Regions from separate parts of the Homo sapiens genome. Here region 1 is linked to region 2. Evidence: promoter capture Hi-C in 16 types of primary human blood cells and fetal thymus (Javierre and others, 2016). All regions are on one chromosome and are shown on one strand. Each heading gives the region's core, a stretch centred on a gene start or on the middle of the fragment in contact. The rest is flanking DNA. Distances are from core to core; before and after follow the strand shown.

Region 1 (6,507 bases), core at 3,709-6,208, 260 kb after region 2:
GGTTCTCATGGTTGTAAGGCAATGTCAAGGTCACCACCACCCAGGCCCTGCCCAACACAGAAGGCCCTAGACAATATCCCTGCTAGGGGGGCATGCAGATGCTGCAGAGTCATTCCTCTTCCTTCCTGGGGTCCACTTCACTGCTAGACAGCTGTGGTCCTTAGCATGGCCCAAGGACGGACCCTGGAGCTTCTTACCCAGATCCAGATCTTTGAGGACATCTTTCCAAGAAGAATCATCTTTCCATGTCTTCTTTTCCCTGAGGTAAAAATTCCAGCTTCCACACAAGACCCTATAATAGAGAGATGGTTTCTTTTGGGAAGAAACCTGGGGTTTTTCAGGTGAGTCTACTCTGGGGAAAGCCAGGCATTTCCCCTGCTCCTTGCTGATGGTTAAGCAAGAAGGAGGTAGCACTGGAAAAATAAAGCTAGGAGATCTCTTCAGGGGATAACTCTTCAGGTCCTTAATTAGGGAGCACAGATAAACTCCAAATTAGACCACTCCACTCTGCAAGGGCAGCATATTCCACTTGCTATCAGAAGAGCTTTGTTGCTGCAAAGGGCTTGGAGATCTCTGTTCTACAAATTGCCCATGGCCCCTGGCCCATCAGCAGGGGAAAGGAGATAGTGGAGAGACGCCCTTTTCCGGTGTCCTGGGCTCAACAGGGATAAAAGGAGGCAGCACTCTGGGTGCCCCATCAGTGTGTTCTCTACCCCTTGGAGACTGCTTTTCTCCAGCTCTGTCAACTCAACCTTTCCCACCATGAGTCGGCAACTGAACATCAAGTCCAGTGGTGACAAGGGCAACTTCAGTGTGCATTCGGCAGTGGTGCCAAGGAAGGCTGTGGGTAGCCTGGCTTCTTACTGTGCAGCTGGCAGAGGGGCTGGCGCTGGCTTTGGCAGTCGGAGCCTCTATAGCCTTGGAGGGAATCGGCGTATTTCTTTCAATGTGGCTGGTGGCGGCGTTCGGGCTGGAGGTTACGGCTTCAGGCCTGGCTCTGGGTATGGAGGGGGCCGGGCCAGTGGCTTTGCTGGCAGTATGTTTGGCAGTGTGGCCCTGGGGCCTGCATGTTTGTCTGTGTGCCCACCTGGGGGCATCCACCAGGTCACTGTCAACAAGAGCCTCTTGGCCCCCCTCAACGTGGAGCTGGACCCTGAGATCCAGAAGGTGCGCGCCCAGGAGCGGGAACAGATCAAGGTGCTGAACGACAAGTTCGCCTCCTTCATTGACAAGGTGGGTCTCATAGGAGGAGGATGAGGCCGCACCCTGAGGCCTGAGCAGTTTTCCTGCTGCCTGGGAATGGACTGCACACTGTGGCTGGAAAGGTGCAGCTGGGCCTCAGGAAGGGCTTCCTCACCATTAGGGAAGGAGAGTAGGTCTGTGAGCCACGGAGGACAAAGGAATACATGAATATATCGGCTTCTTTGGCGATTTTGCAGGGAAGGATGGGAAGCTGGGTAAAGAGCAGCCCTTCCTTGACAAAAAAGTGATGAGTTTCTTGAGGACAGCTGGATCTTCCAAGAACATGAAAGGCTAATAGAATCCAGCAGTGTTCAGAGGGAAGGGCTCATGGTACAGGAAGAGACACTTAGTTGAGACATAAGGAAGGACATCTCCTGGGACCAGGGCCGAGCAATAGAAGAAAGCTGTGGAAACTCCTTGAGTGAGTTCTCAGTGATGCCTTGTCCAGAAGGCTAGGAAATGAGCACTTGTAAAGGATCTAGTTTGTGTGGAATGGCAAGGGTGGAGAGTCAAGACATGAGCAAAAATGACTACAACAATCTATGGCAAACCTGGGGAGTCAATGGTGTGTGTCCAGGGGGCATGACTGCACCCATTGTGGTTCCAGGTGTCTGTTGATTTGGGTTCCAGGTACGCTTCCTAGAGCAGCAGAACCAGGTTCTAGAAACCAAGTGGGAGCTGCTGCAGCAGCTGGACCTGAACAACTGCAAGAAGAACCTGGAGCCCATCCTTGAGGGCTACATCAGCAACCTGCGGAAGCAGCTGGAGACACTGTCTGGGGACAGGGTGAGGCTGGACTCGGAGCTGAGAAGCATGAGGGATCTGGTGGAGGACTATAAGAAGAGGTGAGCAGGCTCCACCCGAGGGTCACAGACCATGTTTCCCGTGCCTCTGGGCTCACCTGATCTCTGTGCCATTATTTTTTAGGAGATGGGGGAGTATGCACCAGGGTCAGGAGCTCACATCCCTTTCTCTGGCTAGGGGGAAGGGCCTATCCTCTTTGATGATAACTTCCTGCCTAGTTGATAGGAAGCGGTTCCTGTGCTCCTTGACCCACTGAAATGTTCAGTTGCTGGTGTCGGGAGCCCAATAGGCACCTGGGTGTTTTCCTAACATGCAAAAACTAGGAGACAAGTGAAGCAACTCAGGGATATCTTACTCCTGTCACTAGCCTCTTACTGCTCACCCCAGAGACCCTGCAGGGACCCTGTATCCCAAACATTTGCCTGGCCAGCAGGAAGAGAAAGTTCCTTGGCTAAGGGGGCTAAGGCCATCTACTCTCCCTGCTGGCAGATATGAAGTGGAGATTAACCGGCGCACGACAGCAGAGAATGAGTTTGTGGTGCTTAAGAAGGTAAGAGAGGGAGGAGCCTCCTTATTAGGGTCTCTCGCACCCCCATCTTAACAACTCTGCTCAGGACTTCAGCCCAGGAGGCTGGGGAGGGGGCTGGTGCCTGGTGAGGGGGCTGGTGCCTGGTGAGGGTGGAGTCATAGTCCTGGCCTCCAGTGAGTTGGAGAGGAAAGACACACACTCAGGAAATGGACAGAGACAGACAGAATTCTGGTCTGGGAACTGTGAAACTCGGGTCCAGCTCAACCTTGCTGTGTGACCTGAGGAAACCTACTACCTCTCTGGGCTTTGTTTTCTCCAGGCATAACAGAGCTGCCCCATCCTCCTTTCCCTATTCCCAAAGCTTCAGGCAGCCTGAGAAGAAATTGATATTGAGTGAGCTTTCCTTTGTGGGTAGAAAATAGAAAATCAGGTGGCTTTGAGGCAGGAGTTGGGCAGGGCAGCTGTGGGATGAGGGTTGCATCCCCCAATGACTCTGGGGCCTCTTGGCAGGATGCAGATGCAGCCTACGCAGTCAAGGTGGAGCTTCAGGCCAAAGTGGACTCACTGGACAAAGAAATCAAGTTCCTCAAGTGTCTGTATGATGCAGTAAGGACACTCCTGTCCCCCCACCCTCACCCTGCCTCCTTCCCGACTCTTCCAGGGAGATACCAAAAGGAGAGATTTAGGATCAACAAAATGAAAGATGTTTTGGTAGAAAGGTACAAAACCCTGCACCAGGAGACCATGGAAGTGCAGGATGCTGGTCCTTGGAGGCCATACATACAGGAGGAAATTGATCTTGATACAATAGTGGACTTGCCCACGGGCAGGAAAAGATAACCCAGTGAGGTCTTACAAAGCACAGAGCCTTGGATTCTGTGAAATTGTGGAAAATGCATTATTCACCCGTCTGCATGTGCCAGCGGGCATCTGCCATATGCAGGGGTTCCTGCTGCTGTTAGCTGCTCTCCCTCAGCTCTGCAGACACATCCCAGAGGGCACTTCTTCCCCCTACTTTGTCCCCGTGGATCCTAGCAGCCTATTGGGCCAGGGACCATGGGCCCAGAAGACTGATGGGGCAGAAGAGGGAAGCCAGGGGGTTGCTGAATCTGTCTTCCTCTCTCAATGCAGGAGATCGCTCAGATCCAGACTCACGCCAGTGAGACCTCTGTCATCCTGTCCATGGACAACAACCGGGACCTGGACCTTGACAGCATCATCGCTGAGGTCCGCATGCATTATGAGGAGATCGCCCTGAAGAGCAAGGCCGAGGCCGAGGCCCTGTACCAGACCAAGGTGGTCACCGAATGGGTCTCCTCCCACAGCAGCCCTTCGCTTCCTGGGAGGGGTCACCTGCACAGTGAATGTGAGGAATACTTTTGTGGGCATGCTGAATGAAAGAAAGGTTCCAACCAAGGCTTCAAGGAAAAAAGGAATTCTTAGCAGAGCTTGTTATCAAAGATAAATCATGAAACTGGTATGGATTGAATATATGCAACAGAGAGGATCCCTCACTTCTTTCCTCCATCCACGAACTGCCTGTTCCTCTCTGTTGCAGGTGAAAGAAGTGAGGTGGTAAAACAAACACACTTATAGGAATGGGGGCATGTTGCCACAGGGCAGAGGGAGAATCACAGACTTGCGGGAGTGTAGCCATGGGTGAATTTGGTGGGGGGCGAGTGAGAGAAGGAGAAGCCTGTAGCTCTTTCCTGATCCCCACGGGAAGACTTTCAAAAGGAAATGGAAGGCGAGGAGTGCTCTGAGTAATGGAACTATGCTTTGGGTAAACTGAGTAATGGAACTATGTTTGGGGCTGTCAGGGAGAAAACCCCTTACCTGGGCCCCCAGGACCCTGTCCCAGCACTCCTCTTCAGTTCCGTTAAATCCCACCGACAGCCAGGGTGGCAGGGGTGGCTTATTTACAGGACCCTTCCCCAGTGCCCTTGTCTCATCACCAACTTCCTATCTCTGGGAAACCAGATCCAGGAGCTGCAGCTGGCAGCCAGTCGGCATGGTGACGACCTGAAACACACCAGGAGCGAGATGGTGGAGCTGAACCGGCTCATCCAGAGGATCCGGTGTGAGATCGGGAATGTGAAGAAGCAGGTGGGCAGCAGCCCCACAAAGAACTCCCGGTCTCCACAGCAGGCTCTGGGATGAGGAAATGGGGCCTGCCCTTTGGGAACAAGCAAATATCCCCTGCTGGGCTTAGGGGTCCCTCGGCCACCCACAGTCTCCCTTTCCCACCCTGCCTCGGTACCCTACCATCAGAGCTGGTACCCCGCCCAGAACTGGGAGGAGCCTCAAACCTATTTCTCTGACTCCTCATTTTGCAGATAAAGCAACTGGGCTGGGAAGGGGAAGGGACTTTCCCAGAGCCCCCAGCTGGTAATGAATGGAGCTAGGATTAGAACCCAGGTTCCCCTTCTGCAGATTTTTTCTGTGTCCAATGAACCTGCCCCATGTCCCCTTTGGGTGCCCCCTCTGAGGGCAGACCCTCTGTCTCCTCCTCCCACTGGACATGGAACATGTGTGGGGTGCAGAGGGTATGCATCAGGCGCCTCTGTTGGCCACACCAGGTTCCTGCTCTCGGAGTGGGGCATGGTCTGTTGACTGAGGGACACAGCTGTCGATGAAGCCCTCCTGGGTTCCCTTGCCCTGTGCCATGGTACTACTTCCATGTTAGTGGGCGGGGGGGTGGGGGTGGGGGGCCTGTCTTACCTGACAGCAGCAAATTTTAAACACTGCGTCAGTGGGGAGATGATATTGGAGGCTGGAGGATCCTTCCTGTGACCTCTCTGAGAACCAGGTCTGCTCTGCTAGTGATAGAATTGACCAGCGGAAAGATCTGAGCCTGTTCTCCTTCTGGTGCCCCCACAACCCTCCATGCTCTGCAGGCAAACACAGGGACAACTCTACGACTCTACATTTGGCCGATTCACAAATTCCATGAGCATAGTTCCTCCCTCTCTGTTAGCAACAGGCATCGCAATGCCCCCCAGATGTTCATCAGAGTCCAGCTTCTGAGGTTGTGCCTATAATTTAGGGCCTTATCCTCCTGCTCTAAGGGAAGGCCAGATGTGGGAGCCTTCACACAGACTCTCCCCAGAGTGCTGGAGTCCAGAAACACTCATCTGGATGCTAACAGATCAGAAGGATCCCCAATGGGGAGAGGTCCTGCAGCAGGAATCTGATCACAGTGGGACCGTGGCATACTGTCTCATCCTCAGGGCTGGCCTTGCTAGGGGATCGGGCATGATTTTCCTGAACCTGTAGTATTTTGAATCTGTAGATACTGGTGGCCTCCGGTCTCAGGCACTATCTAACTTTGCAAACATCGACATTTCTTCCTGACCTCCTGAAATGCAACTGCTTCCACAGCTTCATGTGATAACAGCTTTGAATACTCCTCTGCAATAGAAAATAGAAGAGACAAAGTTCTGGTGTTGGCTTTGCAGCTTTTACTCCTTGTCACCTAGGGCCCCATCTGCAAAATGAGGGCATTGTTCTACTTAACTGGTATGAGCTAAATGTAATTTTCTGTTCTGATGGTCTCTCTGTTCTTTGCCCTTCAGCGTGCCAGCCTGGAGACGGCCATCGCTGACGCTGAGCAGCGGGGAGACAATGCCCTGAAGGATGCCCAGGCCAAGCTGGATGAGCTGGAGGGCGCCCTGCACCAGGCCAAGGAGGAGCTGGCGCGGATGCTGCGCGAGTACCAGGAGCTCATGAGCCTGAAACTGGCCCTGGACATGGAGATTGCCACCTACCGCAAGCTGCTGGAGGGCGAGGAGTGCAGGTAGGTGGGGTGGAGGGGAAAGTGTGAGAAGGGACTGGGGTGTGGCTCCTGTCTGGCTGAGGGGCCACCTGGAGAACAACATGGTTAGTGCCAATACAAGCAAGAGATGTGGTGATTTCGTGAACTCAGAGGCAGC
Region 2 (7,097 bases), core at 3,573-6,072:
AGACATCCATCACCTACTGAGCGACCCAGCAGCCACCTCCTTCCTGAACACATTTGGCCCACTCCCCCCATCAGCCGGCTCTGCAAGGCCAACTCCGTGTCCGCTGCCCACAGCCCAAGCCAGCCCACAGCGGATGCTGCAAAAATCAATAAAGTCTCCCCTCCTGCTGTTCTGAATGCTCTAAGTGCTTGCACACCTCACCCAGCAAAACAAAAGCTGTGTGGCTCCCCAGCTTCCTCTCCTCGGAAGGCAATTGTGGCATATCTGTGTCCAGACGTGTTCTATTGGTATCTCACTCCACATCCCAGCCACTCTATCAAGGGATCCTTCAAGCTCTCCAGTGTGTTCCTTGGGGTGCCCTCCATCTCCCACAACTCCACTGATGTTTTAGCTGTGCTTGTAGCTCACTTCCTCATCAACTGCCTGTTTTAAGAGGTTCTAGTCCTGACTGGGGCAGCCCCCTTCCTTCTTGTTCCTCCTTCTTCCTGACTGTGCACCAAAATTTTCTCCTTTTAGGAACCTTCTCTAATTCCCATGTCTAAACTACTGGGCCCTTCCTGTCCCTGGCAGTCTGGCTGCACCTGTTGCTGTCCTGGGTGCTATGTCTGTCTGGCTCTGGTAAGGGACTCAGCTTCTCTATTAGCCTGGCACTCCTGCATCCAGGATGAGGATGTGCTCAGCTTGTGCCTGGGGGCTCTGATGGAGATTGGGGTTCAAACTCTGCCCCTACCCCCTTATCTGTTGGCTCTCATCTTATCCTTGGGCAAGTGTGAACATGAGGCTGGAAACTTCTCCTCCTTCCTCTCCTTCAGGAAGCTCTGCAGGAAGCCAGGAGTGTGGGAATCAGGTGGGGTGCCAGGAGGGGCTGGAAGGATCACCTTTTCTACACACCCCCAGCAGCCTCATGGGTGCCTGCAGTTGCTCTTTCCCCATTCTCGCTTTCCAGACCCAGGTGGGGGACCTGGCTCAACCCCAAACTCCATAGTCTGGGCTGCAGGAGGTCACACTACGCCTCTCCTTGCTTTAGAGGGAGGGCAGACCTTTCCTCAGATTCATGAATCGCTCCATCCAAATTATGCAAGAAGGCTTTTCAGCTTTGTGTGAAGGAGACCAGAGCCGGTGAGGATGTGGCTTGAATCCCAGCTCTGCTGTTTCCTAGTGGTGTGACCTTGATCAAGCAGCTTGACCTCTTCAGTTACCTCATCTGTAAAAAGAGATTAATAATAATATGTACCTCACAGGGCTGTGTGGCGACAGTGCCACTAGGATCCCAGAAGGAAACTAAATTCATCCAAGGTAGTTCAATTAAATTGACTTTTTGAAAAAGTATAATTTCCGTTTTCTTTTTTCCCCAGAGGATAGTCTTTTCTTTAGTGCTGAGGGATTCGGCCCCTTACATGGGCTTTGGCGGAGATTGTGGGCAGCACCAGCTGTTCTGACTAGGGATATGGGTGTTGGGTCCTTCTGGGCTTCACAAGGCTGCTTCCTGCCTGGCCTGCTATGAGTGACTCACCTCACATGGTAATGCAGTTTCACATACAGCCTGGGAAGCACCCAGACATCCAAGACACTCGCTTTGGAAATGTTCCTGATGGCGGTGGACTCTACCACGTTTTTCAGACTAAGACCTCCTTAATGGCCTTGCCCTCGGGCACGTGTCAGGTGGGGTTTGTGTAGTGAATAGGCTGCACGTGGTCGTGGGCGTGATTGTTGTTCCTTCTTTTCTTTGTCTTCTTGGAAGTGAGGACCTGAGAGGGCTAAATTGACTTTAAGGAAAGGATTACTTGCAGAGGTGTGGTTAGGGCTGAGGGAACAGGGATGGAGAGGCCAGGGACCAGCAATGGCGAGAAGCCGTTACCACACCTAGAGTGAGGTCCACCCTCTCAGTGTGTCCAAGACTGAGAGGACTTGCAGTGCTAAAGCTGGGCAGTCCTGAGAAAATCAGGATGGGCTGGTCGCCTTATGTAGAGCTGAAGATCAAGAGAAGCAGTGAGGTGGCAGAAGCTGTAATCATGGGGAGATGTAGCCATGTCCCCAGACAGTGGTCTGAAGTGGTTGGAAGCAGGGAGGGAGCTGGGAAGAAACATCTGACCTGTCTCCTCCCTCTGATCTCCTGCTGGTGTCTCCCTTTGGTCAACTCAACTGGAAGCCAGAGTGCCAGGGAGCAGCCCACAAGGGTCAGAGGAAGGTGGAGAATGGAGCGGGAGGGAGGCAGATGGAGCATCACCCAGTGCGGAGACTCAACATGCCATTGCAGGGAAGGCATCCAGGCCACTCTGCTGCATAGTACGTGCTCAGTAAGTGTTGACTGTAATAATGATGATAATTAGCTCAGAAAGCCCTACCCTCTTGGGGCTCCTTTGTCCCTGTAACTTTCCTATTGCTCGGCACCCGGCCTGACCCATGGTAGGTGCTAGGTTGGCAGTATCCACTCTCTTGCCCCCTCCCTTTGGTGGCAGCAACCTTCAGTCCCCTCTGCTTTTGTGTCCTGCCATCAGGGAGGGACTCTGGGCAGGTGACAGTCTCCAGAGATGGAGCCCCTCAGTAATCAGTATAGCAGTGTGCAGCAGCTCTTCCTCTCTGTGGAGGGCAGGAGGGGAGGAAACTGCTCCTCCCTGGGCTGCAGAAAGAAGGTCTGAGCGTGCATGTCCTGTCTGAAGGTAGAGTGGAGAGTAGGGGCTGGTGGAGGCAAAGTGCCCTCCCAGGCTTCTGTCTGGGCCTGGGCTGTGAACCTGGGTGGGAGGGAGGCTGTCTCCAAGCAGCAAGCCGGGAGCTCCATGAGAGTGTGCCCTGGTCCCTGTGTGCCTGTCACCAGCTCCCAGCACAAAGCGTGGCCCAGAGAGCGTGCTTGGTAAATGTGTGCAAGGGACTGGCGTGAGTGTCGTGTCTGGGGTGAGGTGAGACTTGTGTTTATCGACTGCCTCTCACTCCCACCAGCCTGGCTGCCCTGTGACTCAGAGGGCTGACAACACTTCCTTGCCCAGGGGGCCCACAGCCACATCCTGGAGGCTAGGGCCCACTCATGACTGTTTCCTCCTCCCACGCCACCCAGGGAGAGATAAGGGAGGCTGAGAAAGTGATCTCAGCCTGGGGAAAGGAGACGAAGGTCAGTGGGAAGGGGCGGCTTCATCCAGGGATCACTTTTCGAAAGGTCTTCCACGGAGGGCCCTGCTTATAGGCAGAGAAAATGGGGCTCAGAGAAGTTGCGAGTTGCCCCAGGACACACAGCTCAGTGTGGGAGACGTCTCGGCTTGGCTCCCTGAAATGCCCAGTGTCCTAACTCCAAAATCTCCTCTTGGCTATTAAGGGACTAGTTCTGCAAGTGCTCTCACTCCCATTCCTTGTGGGAGCTGGGTTCAACCTCTTCAAGCAACGGGGAGCCACTTACAGCCTCCCAGGGGCCCTAGGAGAAGATCCCACAGCTCCCTCTGGTCCTGGAGCAGGCTGTCTCTTCACTTGCTGGGCTGTGGGGAACATGGGAGGGAGGCCAAGCCTTCTCCGTGGCAGTCCCATGTCCTCTCTGTTGGGATCCTGGGGACACAGCCTGGCTGGTTGTCCTGCTCATCTGATGGGGGTGGGGAGCACAGCGATGCTGTCCTCGCTCCTTTTTTTCAGGCAAGTCTCTGTTCACTTTGAGCCCATCTTCTTGCTGAGAGAAGGGGGTGGGGAGGGCCAGTGTCTAAAGTCACCTCCTCAGTCACCCCTCGGCCCTGACAGTTGACGTCTCTGTCTTTGCTTGGGGCTGTGTTTGGTCCCAGCAGACTGAGGTGAATAGGAAGTGGGCGGCGGGGACCATATGAGGTGATTTAAGGAGCTCCCCTGGCCCCTCTGAATCAGAAACATGGGCTCCTGCATGTGGGGCAGGGGAAGATGGGAGTGACGGGGCTGCTGCGTGGGCCTCCTGGGGCTTTTTTGGAACACCTGCTTTTTGGAGCTGTGCCTGTCTCCACCCAGGGTGGTCTGTGTCCTTGACCCACCTCCAGCTCCCTCCAAAGTGGCTGAACCTTTCTGTGGGGACTCTGCTGTGGGGTAGAGGCTCAGGGATCTCAGGTATTGGTTAAATCCCCTGCCCTCTCTTCAGCCTCCATAAGAATGTCCTTTGCTCCCAGGCTTCTGGGCCCTGCCTGAGGACCCCAGGCCTTTTCTACCTCCTGATCAAGGGCCTGGGCCCCACGATTGGGCAGGGATCCTCTTTCTGTCCTTGAATTCACTTTGCCAGCATAGGCTCACTTCCCAGAAGGCTCTGCCACTGTACGGCAGAGGCACAGGCTATCCCCACTCTCGCCCTGTCACCTGTGTCACACACCCTGGACCTGGGAGGAGTGGTGGGCCGTTGGCTGGGGGTGGGATGGGAGCAGGCCTGGATGCTCTCTCTGGCAGCCCATTGCCCAATGCTCCTTCTCCTACCACCTGTACAGCCCCAGGCCCTGCAGCCTTGGCTTACAACAGGGGCCTGGGACAAACCCCGTAGAACAGAGCCCTATTGACAGTGGCCTCTGGGGCTGGGTGGGAGGACAGCAAGCCAGCCACTGGGTGGTGGGGGTGGCCATGGGAGCCCGTATCATCCTGTGCCAACCGAGGAGAGCCTGGGGGCAGGGGGAGAAGGTGGCATCCTGCCCCAGACAGTCTCGGCTCAGCCCCAGCTCTGGAGCACAGGTGATAACCGGGAGGGCCCCTCCCTCCTGCTTGGGGAGAGGGCACTCCCCGTGGCCCTAAGGACCCCTCCCTCTCCCCTTGGGGCGATGGGGCAGGAGTGTCTGTGGAGCTGGGGAGCCGGCCCAGTTGGGAAAAGATAAAAAGCCCACAGTGGCCCAGCAGCTCACGGCACTCCCTTCCTGCCCTCTCATCCTGCCCTCCGGCCCCTCTGCAGCTATGAGGTCCTCCGTCTCTCGGCAAACATACTCCACAAAAGGGGGCTTCAGCTCCAACTCTGCCAGCGGAGGGAGTGGGTCCCAGGCCCGCACCAGCTTCAGCTCAGTGACGGTGTCTCGGAGCAGTGGCAGTGGTGGCGGGGCCCACTGTGGCCCCGGCACAGGTGGCTTTGGCAGCCGAAGCCTCTATAACTTGGGGGGCCACAAGAGTATCTCTGTCAGTGTGGCCGGAGGGGCCTTGTTGGGGCGGGCTCTGGGGGGCTTTGGCTTTGGCAGCAGGGCATTTATGGGACAGGGGGCTGGCAGGCAGACGTTTGGGCCTGCTTGTCCTCCTGGGGGGATCCAGGAGGTCACTGTCAACCAGAGCCTGCTGACCCCCCTCCATGTGGAGATTGACCCCGAGATCCAGCGAGTGCGCACTCAGGAGCGGGAGCAGATCAAGACCCTCAACAACAAGTTCGCCTCCTTCATCGACAAGGTGGGCCAAGCAGGAAGGAGGAAGGGAGCTCTTGGGGAAGAAGCGGGACCTCTAATAGAGGGTGGGCTGGGCCAGGGCTGCTGTAGCCCACTTGTACTAGGGTGGTGGTTGATAGAGCTCTGGAGCTCTCCCGGTCTGAGCCTGGGATGCCGAGACGTGGGTGGCTGGAGGCGGCCTTCAGGTCTTCACCGTGCCTGTGCGGGGGGAGTCTCCAGTCTACTCATGAGTCCGGTTTGCCAAGTCCACCTTGCCCGTGTTGAAGCCTGTCCTACCACCATGATTAATACGATTGATTGCACAGTAGCCTTACCTCATCATCAAAAAATGGATTGTCCTCATAGCTCCTCTTAGTGGGGTGGCCTGCATTGCCTTTTGTCATTTTACAGCTGGGGAAACAATGCTCAGGAGTTGAAAGAGTTGTTCAAGGCTAAGAGCATGGAGCCCTGTTTGTTCCATTCTTTCAGGCTTGGAGGAGGCTTAAGGGCAAGATGTGATCAAAACACAGTTGTGTGTGGGTGGGGTCCTAGGGGTAGGCTCCCTTCCGCTTCTCCTTTTTTTACACTCTGAGTGAAGAAGCTCAATTTGGGGTGGACAATGAGGAGGGTGGTCACCAGGTCACCAAGCTCTGGGAATGTGGAATTTGACCTGTTGCCCATAGGCATGCCCTGAACCTTGCCCTTGCCTCCAGATGGATGGGAGCAACACTTGTGCTGGGATTTCCTGGTCTGTTTCGCTGGCATTGTCCACCTCGATCCTGAGCCAAGGCAGCGGGTCATGATGGGGAAGGTCTGGCAGACAAATGTACCTTGGTTCAGTGATTTGTGTGTTTCCGAAGAACATGCACATCCCTTTTCTCCTGAGGTACCCACAGTGCTTCTATGAAGACTCAGAAATGGTGATATTGTGCCCATTTTTGAGATGAGAAAATTGAGGTCTAGAGAGCTCAAGTGATTTGCCCAGGATGATACAAGGAGTTGGAGGCAGAGGCGGGACTGGGACCCAGGCCCCTGGACTCTGTGGTTCTTGGCACTAAGAGTTGTTACTGCTCACAATAGGCACACCTGCTGCATGATGCTCCCAGGGCATGTGACTGAGGCCCAGGTAGTGTGGAGATGGGACCTGGAGATATTGGATGACAGAATATGAAGCAAGCCGTCTTGCCTGCCTCCTCACCCTCTCCCCTAGTGACTTTTGGTTTTCCTGTGGGACTGTCCCAGAGGCCAAACAAGCCAAAACCTTTCTCAGGATTGCAGAATCACAGCTTGGGAGCTGGAGGTCTGAGAGATTGTCTTGGAACCCCAGCTGGGCCAAGAACTCTCGGGGGTCCTGTTAAACCCACACCGTAAGCCTCCTTCTGAGTCTATAGAGGAAGGGCTCAGACATTGGTACTTTAAAAAAAGTTTTTTTTGGGAAAAAATGTTGAATTTACAGAAAAGTTGCAAGAATAGTACAACATACTCCTGTATACTCTTTCACCCAGTTCACCAATTTTCTTAATTTATTATTATTATTTTTTGAGACAGGGTCTTGCTCTGTTTCCCAGACTGGAGTGCAGTGGTACAGTCATAGCTCACTGCAGCCTCCATCTCTTGGGCTCAAGTGATCCTCCCACTTCAGCCTCCTGAGTAGCTGGGACTACTGGTGCATGCCACTACACCTGGCTAATTGTCTTGATTTTTAGTGGAGACAGTCTTGCTATGTTGCCTAGGCTGGTCTTGAACTCCTGAGCTCAAGCACTCCTCCAGCTT

What was found. Contacts are between HindIII fragments. The CHiCAGO score rates a contact against its expected background, and 5 or more counts as called.
Region 1: a contact is called between a fragment that was not itself captured here and the fragment with the promoter of KRT79 in region 2, in 6 of 17 cell types (naive CD4 T cells, naive CD8 T cells, total CD4 T cells and 3 more). The highest score is 10.8, in naive CD4 T cells.

Annotation. Positions count from the first base shown.
Region 1 is chr12:52,568,033-52,574,539 of GRCh38, reverse strand. KRT74 (keratin 74) reads left to right here and starts at 697. Exons shown (of 9, transcript NM_175053.4): 1 at 697-1,233; 2 at 1,873-2,087; 3 at 2,536-2,596; 4 at 3,086-3,181; 5 at 3,707-3,871; 6 at 4,556-4,681; 7 at 6,151-6,371. The coding sequence starts at 763. RefSeq lists an enhancer at 2,103-2,272. The HindIII fragment of the contact is 4,039 bases long and covers 2,939-6,507 here.
Region 2 is chr12:52,832,036-52,839,132 of GRCh38, reverse strand. KRT79 (keratin 79) reads left to right here and starts at 4,822. Exons shown (of 9, transcript NM_175834.3): 1 at 4,822-5,349. The coding sequence starts at 4,873. KRT78 (keratin 78) reads left to right here. Exons shown (of 9, transcript NM_173352.4): 9 at 1-1,326. The coding sequence ends at 20. RefSeq lists an enhancer at 1,151-2,350. The HindIII fragment of the contact is 16,661 bases long and covers 1-7,097 here.